Linked DNA regions of Homo sapiens: regions 2 and 3 are each linked to region 1. Evidence: promoter capture Hi-C in 16 types of primary human blood cells and fetal thymus (Javierre and others, 2016). All regions are on one chromosome and are shown on one strand. Each heading gives the region's core, a stretch centred on a gene start or on the middle of the fragment in contact. The rest is flanking DNA. Distances are from core to core; before and after follow the strand shown. Region 1 holds the start of LYN (LYN proto-oncogene, Src family tyrosine kinase). Region 2 overlaps MRPL15 (mitochondrial ribosomal protein L15). Region 3 has its middle 29 kb from the start of MRPL15.

Region 1 (3,302 bases), core at 362-2,861:
GGGCTTAGTAAGGCCTGGGTTCTTGCAGTGCCTATTCCCCAGGGCATGGCTTTAGGTGTTGGCTGTACAGAGAAAACATCCCTGTAGCCCACCAGTTTATTGGCTAGTTCTTTAGGGAAAGTCAGACTACTGGGCCCTGCTTTGGGACAGCAAATCCCTCATGTATTTATTAAGCAGATTTACTAATAAGGTCAGATGGCTAAATCTGACATGGTAGTCTTAGCTTCAACATCACCAAGCTGCAAAGAACCAAGAAGCCTCATTTATATGAATAGAATTCACTGCAATAAATAACAGTAACATCGTTTATGAAATGCTTGGTACGTACTAGGGGCTTTGTGTGTACTAAACAGCCCCTGAGGTATATATGCTCTCTCAAAGATGAAGAAACTCAAACAGGGAATTTCAATAATCGGTCCCCTAAATATACAGCCAGAAAAGTGCAAGGCCTAGATTCTGAGCTGGCGAAGAAGGGCGAATTTGGGATAATTAACACACTCGGATATACAAAAACACAACCGCTAATCCACATGACAGGCAGGCTGTTGGAAAGTTACGAATGCACCGCAAGCAAAAGATGCCACCATGGGCCCAGAGAATGCAGGAAAGTGGGAACTGACTCTTACGCCCTTCCCCCAAGGCGAAGGAAAGGCAACCCCTGAATTCTTAAAATAACTCTCGCTTCCTCTCAGCCGGCAAAAGCACCGGACTGCTCCTCGGCAGGCCGAGAGGCGCCGCAGCGGGAGGGTGAGTTCCAGCCTCCGCTGCAGCCCCTCGACGTCACGCTCCTGCCCGGGGCCACCAGGGAGGGCAACTGTCCGCGGGCCTCGAGAGGGCGCCGGCCGAGCCCCATCTCCCACTGCCAGGAGACCCAGGGTCCAGAGGGGAGATCAGATTGCACAATCCGAGGAGTCCTCTCCAGTATCCCCGCCGCGCGCCCGCTCCGCAAGGGCAGCGGCTTCCCCACTGTGTGCGAGAAGCGGCCGGAGCAGGGACAGCAGCCGGCCCTCGGGCCCTCACCGGGAAGGACACGCGGTGAGCCCGCCCCCGCGCCCGCACCTCCCACCGCTCCCCTGCGCGGCTCCGCGGCGGACACCTGCGGAGCCTCAGTCCCCGCGCCCTGGCTCCCCCGGGCCCGGTCACCCGTCGGCTGAAGACATCTAAGAGCCTTCGCCGCCGGAGCCCAGAGGCGGTGCGGCCAGGAAGCCGCCGCGGGCCGCGCCGATGCCCCCGGCCCCGAGTCTACCCTGCGCCCGGGACTCCGGCTGGTGGCACAGCCGCGGCCCCTGCACCCACTGCCCGCGTGCCCGCGCCCACCCCTGGGCTCGCGCAGAGGACTCACCCGCTCGCGGTGAAAGTTTCGGGGCGGCGGAGCTCCACGGTGACTTGAGTTCAGAGTGGGGGGCGCGACGGGGCGGCCCAGCAGGACCTGCGTATGGGGAGGCTGCTGGCCGGGAACGCTGGACGCGCGGCGAGGGGCTGCTGGCGCGGGGCCGGGGGTGGCGCGGCCGCCCCGCTTGCCGCGGGCTGGAGGCTGCAGCGCGTCTGGCCCGGAGGCGCCACGGCCGGGGAGCGAGCGGCAGCGCGGCCCGGCGCGGCGGGAGAGGAACTGGCTGTCTCTGGGCTCGGCCGAGAGGTCCCAGCTACTTCCTGGTGCTCGGATTTGCATATTGAGCCCGGAGGGCGGGGAAGTGACCGTTTGGTCCCTGCCCAAGGTTTGGGTGTTTGGTGTGGCCGTCGCGCAGGGCTTTGAAGGCACAGAAACCTGGCGACTCAGTCTGCAGCTCCGGGGAGTGGAGCAGCCCGGGCCAGCCTTCTCCTGTAGGGACGGACGGAAGGATCTCCAGAGGAGCCTGGGCTTCGCAGGCACATCGACTACACCTCTCGCGTCTCCTTTCCTTTCCTTCCGACCCATCCCCAAGGTATTATTAGGAAGGGGGTGCTCCCAGGAGCGGAGGAGGTGCGCTCTGATCCCTTCCAACATTAGGGGTTCTCTAGAGAAAGGATGCGATATGCCGAGGTGATGCTCGGGGTCTCGCTGAGTTCTTAATAATCATTACAAAGTAAGTTCCTTAAGGGTGTACAGGAGGCTGTTCAGGGCATTGATGGGGGAGGGGATGACGTAGAGTCAAATGGCCCGGCAAGTTCTCCGTTTCTCAAAGCCTCAGTTTCCTCCCAGGACAATGGATGTGAGGATGCCTATCTCGTGTACCTTTCTGTACAGGGCCCGCACTGCCCGCATGCAGGAATGCTGGCGTTATTTCATTCCTACTACAGCTGCGTCCCAGCATGTAGGGCAGTGCTTGCACGTAGCAGCTGGTGCCTAACCAGTGTTTGCTGAAAGAATGTGTGACCGCGTGCTCAAGCTCATGTTCAACTCAATAAATGCCACTTACAAATCCAAGATGTAAGATTAGGCTCGGGCACCGTGGATACCCACTTCTTCTAAGCCAGATTCTGTTCACTGGGATCTCAGCATTGCATTAATAGCAAACATTTACAGAGGGCCTGATGGGCCAGACACTGCCCAAAGCACTTCCTTTCTCTCATTAACAATGTTCTGAAGAGGCTGACCCCAGCTACAGAGCAATAAGTCAAAGCAGCTGCCTTGTGACACAATCTGATACAGCAGTTATTTGTTACTAGGAAAAGAGTACTAAAGTTTGCATACTAATTCCTTAAAAGAAGAAAGGTGGTTTATACCTGTGATGTTCACTGGTATGTAGTTGTTAGTTTACTGCTGAAGAGAAGGGGTGGGTTGCCCATGGAAATACCCATGGGAAGGTGTGTGATTGAAACCTATCAAGAATCCTATGGAGAAAAATAGAAAAATGAAAAAAGAACAAAACAAAACAAAATGAAACAAAAAACAATGAATCCTACAGAATAATTCACTACCTGAGGGCCTATTGCCTAGACTTTTCTTAAGAATGACCTCTCAAATATATTAACCCTACATTAAAGTTTCTGCTGCTACTGATGAATCCTTGAGATCCTGACTAAACGTGTGTGGCAAATAAGAATAGGATTCAAAAACGTTTGGTATTGGTTAATCTATCAGGAATGTCTGTCAGTGTTTTTGGTAAAATGTCTCTCAGGGTAAGGAACAAAGCATCATCAGGCTTACCTGAGCTTGCAACCAGATCCCCAACTCCCTAACTCCTCACAAAATTGTCCTCACTAAGTTCATCTCTTCATTCTTATTTGGAAAAAAACGATACGATGCTAATTTCCACTTCTTAGGCTGCATTTATACTTGCTGAATACTTCATTCAATCATTCTCCATATCTGTCTTTCCTTC
Region 2 (3,302 bases), core at 497-2,996, 1.7 Mb after region 1:
AGGTGTCCATTGCCGCTCCCAATCGGGCTAGAGGCTCACCATTGTTCCTGCATGGCTAAGGGCCCAGGGTTCATCCTAATCGAGCTGAACACTAGTCACTGGGTTCCACAGTTCTCTTCCGTGACCCATGACTTCTACTAGAGCTATAACACTGACCACATGGCCCAAGGTTCCATTCTTTGGAATCCGTGAGGCCAAGAACCCCAGGTCAGAGAACAAAAGGCTTGCTGCCATCTTGGGAGTGGCCACCACCATCTTGGGAGCTCTAAGAACAAAGGCCTGCCTGTAACACTTCTACCACAGAATTGAGAAAATAAATTCATTTGTAATTTTTGTTTCTCTCACCTTCAATGTCACTGGCAAACATACTGCCTACCAGCTACTCCTCAGCCTTACACCTTAAGCATACGTCCTGATCTTACTCTTCGAGTTGAGGGTTTACCATCTTGGCATTGGGTAGCCGTGTTTCCCTGAGGCTACAGATTAAGAGGGGTCACCAACTCATTCCATCTGCTCTCATCTCGGCAGAGCAGGCCTACAGGTCAATCCCATTCCACTTGTGCATTTCATTCTGATCTGTAACAGTAACAAGGCCTGGATGAAAAGATCACTGAAAAAACAAACTAGAAATATTCTAAAATAGTTGTCATTTTCCTTCCATAGACTATCAGGGAGTTTGTATCTTTGAGACAGAACCCACACAGACTCAGTTTCTCTATGCAGTCCTTGTTTCCTGCCATTTAATTTTAGATGAAAATGAGACATATGAGTACACTGAAAAGTAACATCACCATCTGGAAAATTATACATAAGGAAAATGCAATAAGGGAATATAGATCCTTCAGCCCCTATTCCAGTACTCTTTAACAACTCTGCTTCCTTGGACGGGAATTCATGAGGTATAATACTTAAGGAGATTTTCATCTGTAGGTTTTAGGATTTTCTTATCGGCCATATTCACCACCCATCCTGGAGCAAGACCAAAGAAAATCTGCCTTGGATCCTTCCTAGTACAGAGCATTTTGAAGAGTTCATCTTTAGTGATATCAGGTAAGATATAACCATACTTCCTGGCGAGTTCAAGTCGTGCTTCAGGAAATTTGGCAGGATCCGCCAGGTACCCACGGTTCTTTGCATCAGTGTAATATGGTACCAGTTCTTCTGGTGGAAGCATTCTTTTTGGAATGGGTTGTCCACGAAGAAAGAATGGAACAGGTTTGCATACAATGTCTAAAAGAAAATTTAAATTTAAAAAGTGAGATGCAAATATTAGCTCATAGACATACCTAGAGATGTAACTCTAACATAGAGATGTAACTCTGTACCATAGAGATGTTACAGAGTTTCTCTTGATTATTAATTTTTATTATTTTTTTTTTGAGACGCAGTTTCACTCTTGTTGCCCAGACTGGAGTACAATGGCACCATCTCGGCTCACTGCAACCTCTGCCTCATGGGTTCAAGCAATTCTCCTGCCTCAGCCTCCCAAGTAGCTGGGATTAGAGGCACATGCCGCCACGCCCGGATCATTTTGTATTTTTAGTAGAGACGGGGTTTGACCATGTTGGTCAGGCTGGTCTGGAACTCTTGACCTCAGGTGATCCACCCACCTGGGCCTCCCAAAGTGCTGGGATTACAGGCATGAGCAACCATACCTGTATCTGGAAAACCAATTTTACTAAAATGAGTTATCTTAACTAAAGAGCAGGCAAAGAAATCTTATGTGAAACAAACCAAGGAATGCTGCATAACCCCAGTTCTGTTTTCAAACATTTTAAAGGACCCGAGACACATGTTCTGAAAGTGAGATAGTGAAAAAAAGGCCTACGCACAAGATATCACAGATGCCACAGGGCCTTTAGATAGCTTAGAAAGCAATTACACAAATAGATAACTGTATGAATACAACTGACACTCTACTCATCGTGTTAGCAATGCAACCTTAACCAAAGCTGGTTACAGAAATCAAAACAGTACTAAGGAAATTACTGAGAACCTCAAAATAATAGTACATATGTCACAGAGCAGTTACAAAGTTTACCTGATGTAATCCACAGAATCCATTCACACATGTATAGTATTTGGTATACAATGAGACAGATGTTAACTATCACCCACCAGGGCGTAAGCTCTGTGAAGGAAGGGACTTTTTTTTTTTTTTTTTTGAGACAAAGTCTCGCTCTGTCGCCCAGGCTAGAGTACAGTGGCATGATCTCGGCTCACTGCAACCTCTGCCTCCCAGACTCAAGTGATTCTCCTGCCTCAACCTCCCAAGTAGCTGGGATTACAGGCATGCACCACCATGCTCAGCTAATTTTTGTATTTTTAGTAGAGATGGGGTTTTGCCATGTTGGCCAGGCTGGTCTTGAACTCCTGAACTCAGGTGATCCACTTCACTTGGCCTCCCAAAGTGCTGGGATTACAGGCGTGAGGCCACTGCGCCCGGCCAGGAAAGGACTTTTGACTCTTGCACTATCGTCTCTCCATCAGCTGGAACAGTATCTAGCAAACACTAGCCTCTGGCTGTTTGCTGAATGCAAGAATCTGACAGCTGTTTTATACAGCTCTAATATATTGCATCACCTAGCAGTATCTCCACACAGGGCAAATGAGAAATGGTGATTAGGAGGTACTCCAGGCAGGCCACTCACAGAAATGAGAACTGGAAGCTATCTGCTAAGGGTCGAGACCAAGAATTATAAAGCAGAGCCACCTAAAGCCAGGTCATGCTCTGGATAAACCATCCTACCTACTTCACCTACAACAGAGGGTAAGTAAATAGTGGATGTCCTTGAATCATCAAGAAAGTATCTTCAAAATATATTTAAGAAAGAAATTTGTAGACCAGGCACAATGGCTCATGCTTTTAATGCCAGCACCTTGGGAGGTAGGAGAATTGCTTGAGCGCAGGAGTTCAAGACCAGCCTGAGCAACATAGTGAGACCTCATCTCTACAAAACATAAAACAAAAAAAAGTTAGCATGGTGACATGCACCTGTAGTCCCAGTTACTCAGGGGGCCTAGGTGGCAGGATTTCTTGAGCTCAGGAGTTTCAGATTGCAGTGAGTGGAACTGCACTCTAGCCTGAGAGAGCAAGACCATCTCAAATGAAAAGAAAAAAAAAAAATTTCTGGCCCGGCATGGTGGCTCACACCAAGGATCACTTGAAACCAGGAGTTTGAGACCAGCATGGGCAACACAGTAAGACCCCTATCTTTATAAAAATCAAATTAGCCAGGCATGGTGGCACACACCTGTAGTCCCAGCTACTCATGAGGCTGAGATGGGAGGATCACTTGAGC
Region 3 (3,302 bases), core at 497-2,996, 1.7 Mb after region 1:
AGTCTTGCCTATTTTGAGCCGGCTACATTCACTTCGTGATAACAAAACCTACTTTTCCACTCGAGGGAAAAGGAGGATGATTTGGAGCGCTCCAGAGCTGGAAGGCTTCTCAGGGGTCATTGCTCATGACTTCCGTGGGTCCCTTACTCTAGTCTGTCAAAGCAGAAGTCAGCATTTCACTCTCGATAACTACTGCATACAAGTAACCAAGAGACTACTGGCTCAATGAGGAAAAAGGCGTGGACACCCCTTCAACTCAGCATTTGAGAAAAGTGAGACAAGTGCCTGCTCAAAGGCGCTTGGTGTGCAATAGTGTGTCCCAGGCTATCAGCATGCAGGCAGTGATGGCAGATACACGCCCTGAGAGTGAAGCCACAGCGAAGCTTCGACAGCAGGGGCCAGCGGCGAGTCATGAGGGGAATATAATGGCAGCTTCTCTAACTCCGGACAATATCCAGCAGCAGCTAACACTTTCTCATTCTCCAGTTAATGCAATAAAATTGCAGAGATGCTACATACGGTATTAATAGGAAGCAATAAGTATGCATTAGAATAACTCCTTTCCCAGTGTCAGGTTATTCTGACCAATGTGACTCCAGAGAGGAACTAGGCTCGCTATCAGCAACACTGAGCTACAGCTGGCTGGACTGGGCTATGGCCTAAAATTCTCTGTCACATCTCCCTGTGCAAGACAGCAAATTTCTACCTCTGCCTCCAGCAACTTTTGTACACAGAACAATGACCCAATCCCTCCTGAGAACTGTCCCACCTACATACGGGAGAAGCAATAAAAAGAGACCCAGCCTCCCCAGGAATTTCTCTGGGCCAGAGTCACTCCTTATATTTAAGACAGTCAGCAGTTTATAACACCTGCTGCATTATAAATCTTAGTCCTCCAAACCAGTGGTCTTTCATCTTAAAATCAGTTGAGTGATGATTTGATGTCAATGTAATATTGAAGTCAGGGAAGAGAAATAACCACAAACCTCTGCTTGATATGAGAAGGCACTGTGAAGGAAAATGTTTAGGACTTACAGAAAGTACACAAGAAAAATGTATAGAATCCTTATGTTGGCAGACTGGATGTCAATTTATGGCATTTGCACATAGTATGTCTACTATTCTAGTTTTATTTTAAATGTAAGTTTCTTTACATTAAAAAAAATGTTTTGGGGAGGGCACGGTGACTCATGCCTATAATTCAAGCACTTTGGAAGGCCGAGGCAGGTGGATTGCTTGAGGCCAGGAGTTCAAGACCAGCCTGGCCAACATGGAGAAACCCCATCTCTACTAAAAATACAAAAGTTAGCCAGGGGTGGTGGCATGTGCCTGCAATCCCAGCTACTCGAGAGGCTAAGGTGGGAGAATTGCTTGAACCCAGGAGGCAGAGGTTGCAGTAAGCCAAGATCACACCACTGCACTCCAGCTTGGACGACAGAGCGAGACTCTGTCTCAAATTTTAAAAAATTGAAATATTTTAAAGTTTTGGTTTATAAATATTCTTATGGTAATATAAAAGGTATCTTTTACCACGTGCAGAGCAAATGACTAAATCAGAAATGAATAAGACAACAGTCCCAACCCAAAATAAAAAAGGCTTATAACAGGCCTGGCATGGTGGCTTACACCTGTAATCCCAGCACCATGAGAGGCCGAGGCTGGTGGATTGCTTGAGTCCAGGAGTTTGAGACCAGCCTGGGACACATTGTGAAACCTCACCTCTATTAAAAATACAAAAAATTAGCAAGTCATGGTGATGCTTGCCCATAGTCCCAGCTACTCGAGAAGCTGAGGTGGGAGGATCACCTGAGCCCAGGAGGTTTAGGCTGCAGTGAGCTGAGATGGCACCACTGCACTCCAGCCTGGACAACCAGAGTGAGATCCTGTCTCAAGAAATATAAAAAATAAATAAAAGAATTATAAGAGAACACTGTGACCAGCCTAACCAACATGGTGAAACTCCATCTCTACTAAAAATACAAAAATTAGCTGGGCATGGTGGTGCATGCATGCAGTCCCAGCTACTCGGGAGGCTGAGGCAGAAGGATGGCTGGAACCCGGGAGGCAGAGGTTGCAGTGATCCCAGATCATGCCACTTGCACTCCAGCCTGGGTGACAGAGCACATTTCTGTCTCAAAAATAAAATAAAATAATAAAAATAAAGAGAACACTGTGAAAAATTGTGTGCCAACCAATTAGATAACCTAGTTGAAATGGATAAATTACTTGACAGACACAAACTACAAAAACAGACTCAAGAAGAGTAGAAAATCACAGAAAAAAAGAGAAATAAAAAAGAATAGAAAATCTGAAAAGATGTATAACAAGAGAATTATTAATCAAAAACTTCCCACAAAGAATAGCCCAGGGTCAGATGACTTCACTGGTGAATTCTACCAAATATTTAAAGAATTAATGCCAATTCTTCAAAAATTCTTCAAAAAAAAAAAGAGGAGGAAACACTTCGAAATCATTCTATTTGCCTAGTATAACACTGATACCAAAGACATCACAAAAAACTACAAATATATTTTAAATGATACATGCAAAACTCAACAAAATACAAGCAATCCAAATTCAGCAACATATAAAAGAGGATTATATACTATGACCAAGTGGAATTTATCCCAGGTATACAAGGTTGGTTTAATATCTGAAAATCTATCAATGTAATACACCAAATTAATAGAATAAAAGACAAAAACACATACTGATAAGAGATAGCCCATGTTCATGGATTAGACGACTTTTTTTTTTGAGACATGGTCTCACTTTGTCACTCAAGGTGGAGTACAGTGGCACAATCATGGCTCACTGCAGCCTCAACCTCCAGGGCTCAAGGGATTCACCTTAGCCTCTGCCTGTCCCTCAGGTACCTGAGACTATAGGCATGTTCCACCAGCTAATTTTTTATTTTTTACTTTTTTGTAAAGATGGAGTTTCACTATGTTGCCTAGGCTGGTCCCAAACCCCTGGGCTTAAGTGATCCTCCCACTTTGGTCTCCCAAAGTGCTGGAATTACAGAAGTGAGCCACCATGTCTGGCTAGAAGACTTAGTATTGTTAAAATAGCCATATTCTCTGAATTGATCTACAAATTTAAAGCTTGCATTTATCAAAATGCAAGCTGCCATTTTTGCAGAAATTGGCAAGGTGATTCTCAAATTTGTATGGAAATTCAAGGGGCCCAGAGGAGTCAAAACCATCTTGAAAAAGAAGAATAAGGCTAGGATTTCTTATTTTCAAAACTTACTACAAAACTACAGTAATCAAGACTGTATAAGACTTTATGTATCAAGTGTA

What was found. Contacts are between HindIII fragments. The CHiCAGO score rates a contact against its expected background, and 5 or more counts as called.
Region 2: a contact is called between a fragment that was not itself captured here and the fragment with the promoter of LYN in region 1, in 1 of 17 cell types (total B cells). The highest score is 5.6, in total B cells.
Region 3: a fragment that was not itself captured here is called in contact with the fragment with the promoter of LYN in region 1 in 1 of 17 cell types (M0 macrophages); the score reaches 5.8 in M0 macrophages.

The regions. Positions count from the first base shown.
Region 1 is chr8:55,878,144-55,881,445 of GRCh38, reverse strand. It overlaps LYN (LYN proto-oncogene, Src family tyrosine kinase), which reads right to left and starts at 1,611. Exons shown (of 13, transcript NM_002350.4): 1 at 1,343-1,611. RefSeq lists silencers at 828-1,007, 1,038-1,327, 1,408-1,577, 1,598-1,657 and enhancers at 1,808-1,867, 2,428-2,517. The HindIII fragment of the contact is 13,046 bases long and covers 1-3,302 here.
Region 2 is chr8:54,145,310-54,148,611 of GRCh38, reverse strand. MRPL15 (mitochondrial ribosomal protein L15) reads right to left here. Exons shown (of 5, transcript NM_014175.4): 5 at 98-1,230. The coding sequence ends at 893. Among named protein-coding and RNA genes, the nearest start is that of MRPL15, 12 kb to the right of the region's middle. The HindIII fragment of the contact is 4,802 bases long and covers 1-3,302 here.
Region 3 is chr8:54,163,049-54,166,350 of GRCh38, reverse strand. No RefSeq gene overlaps it. Among named protein-coding and RNA genes, the nearest start is that of MRPL15, 29 kb to the right of the region's middle. RefSeq lists an enhancer at 635-684. The HindIII fragment of the contact is 2,721 bases long and covers 386-3,106 here.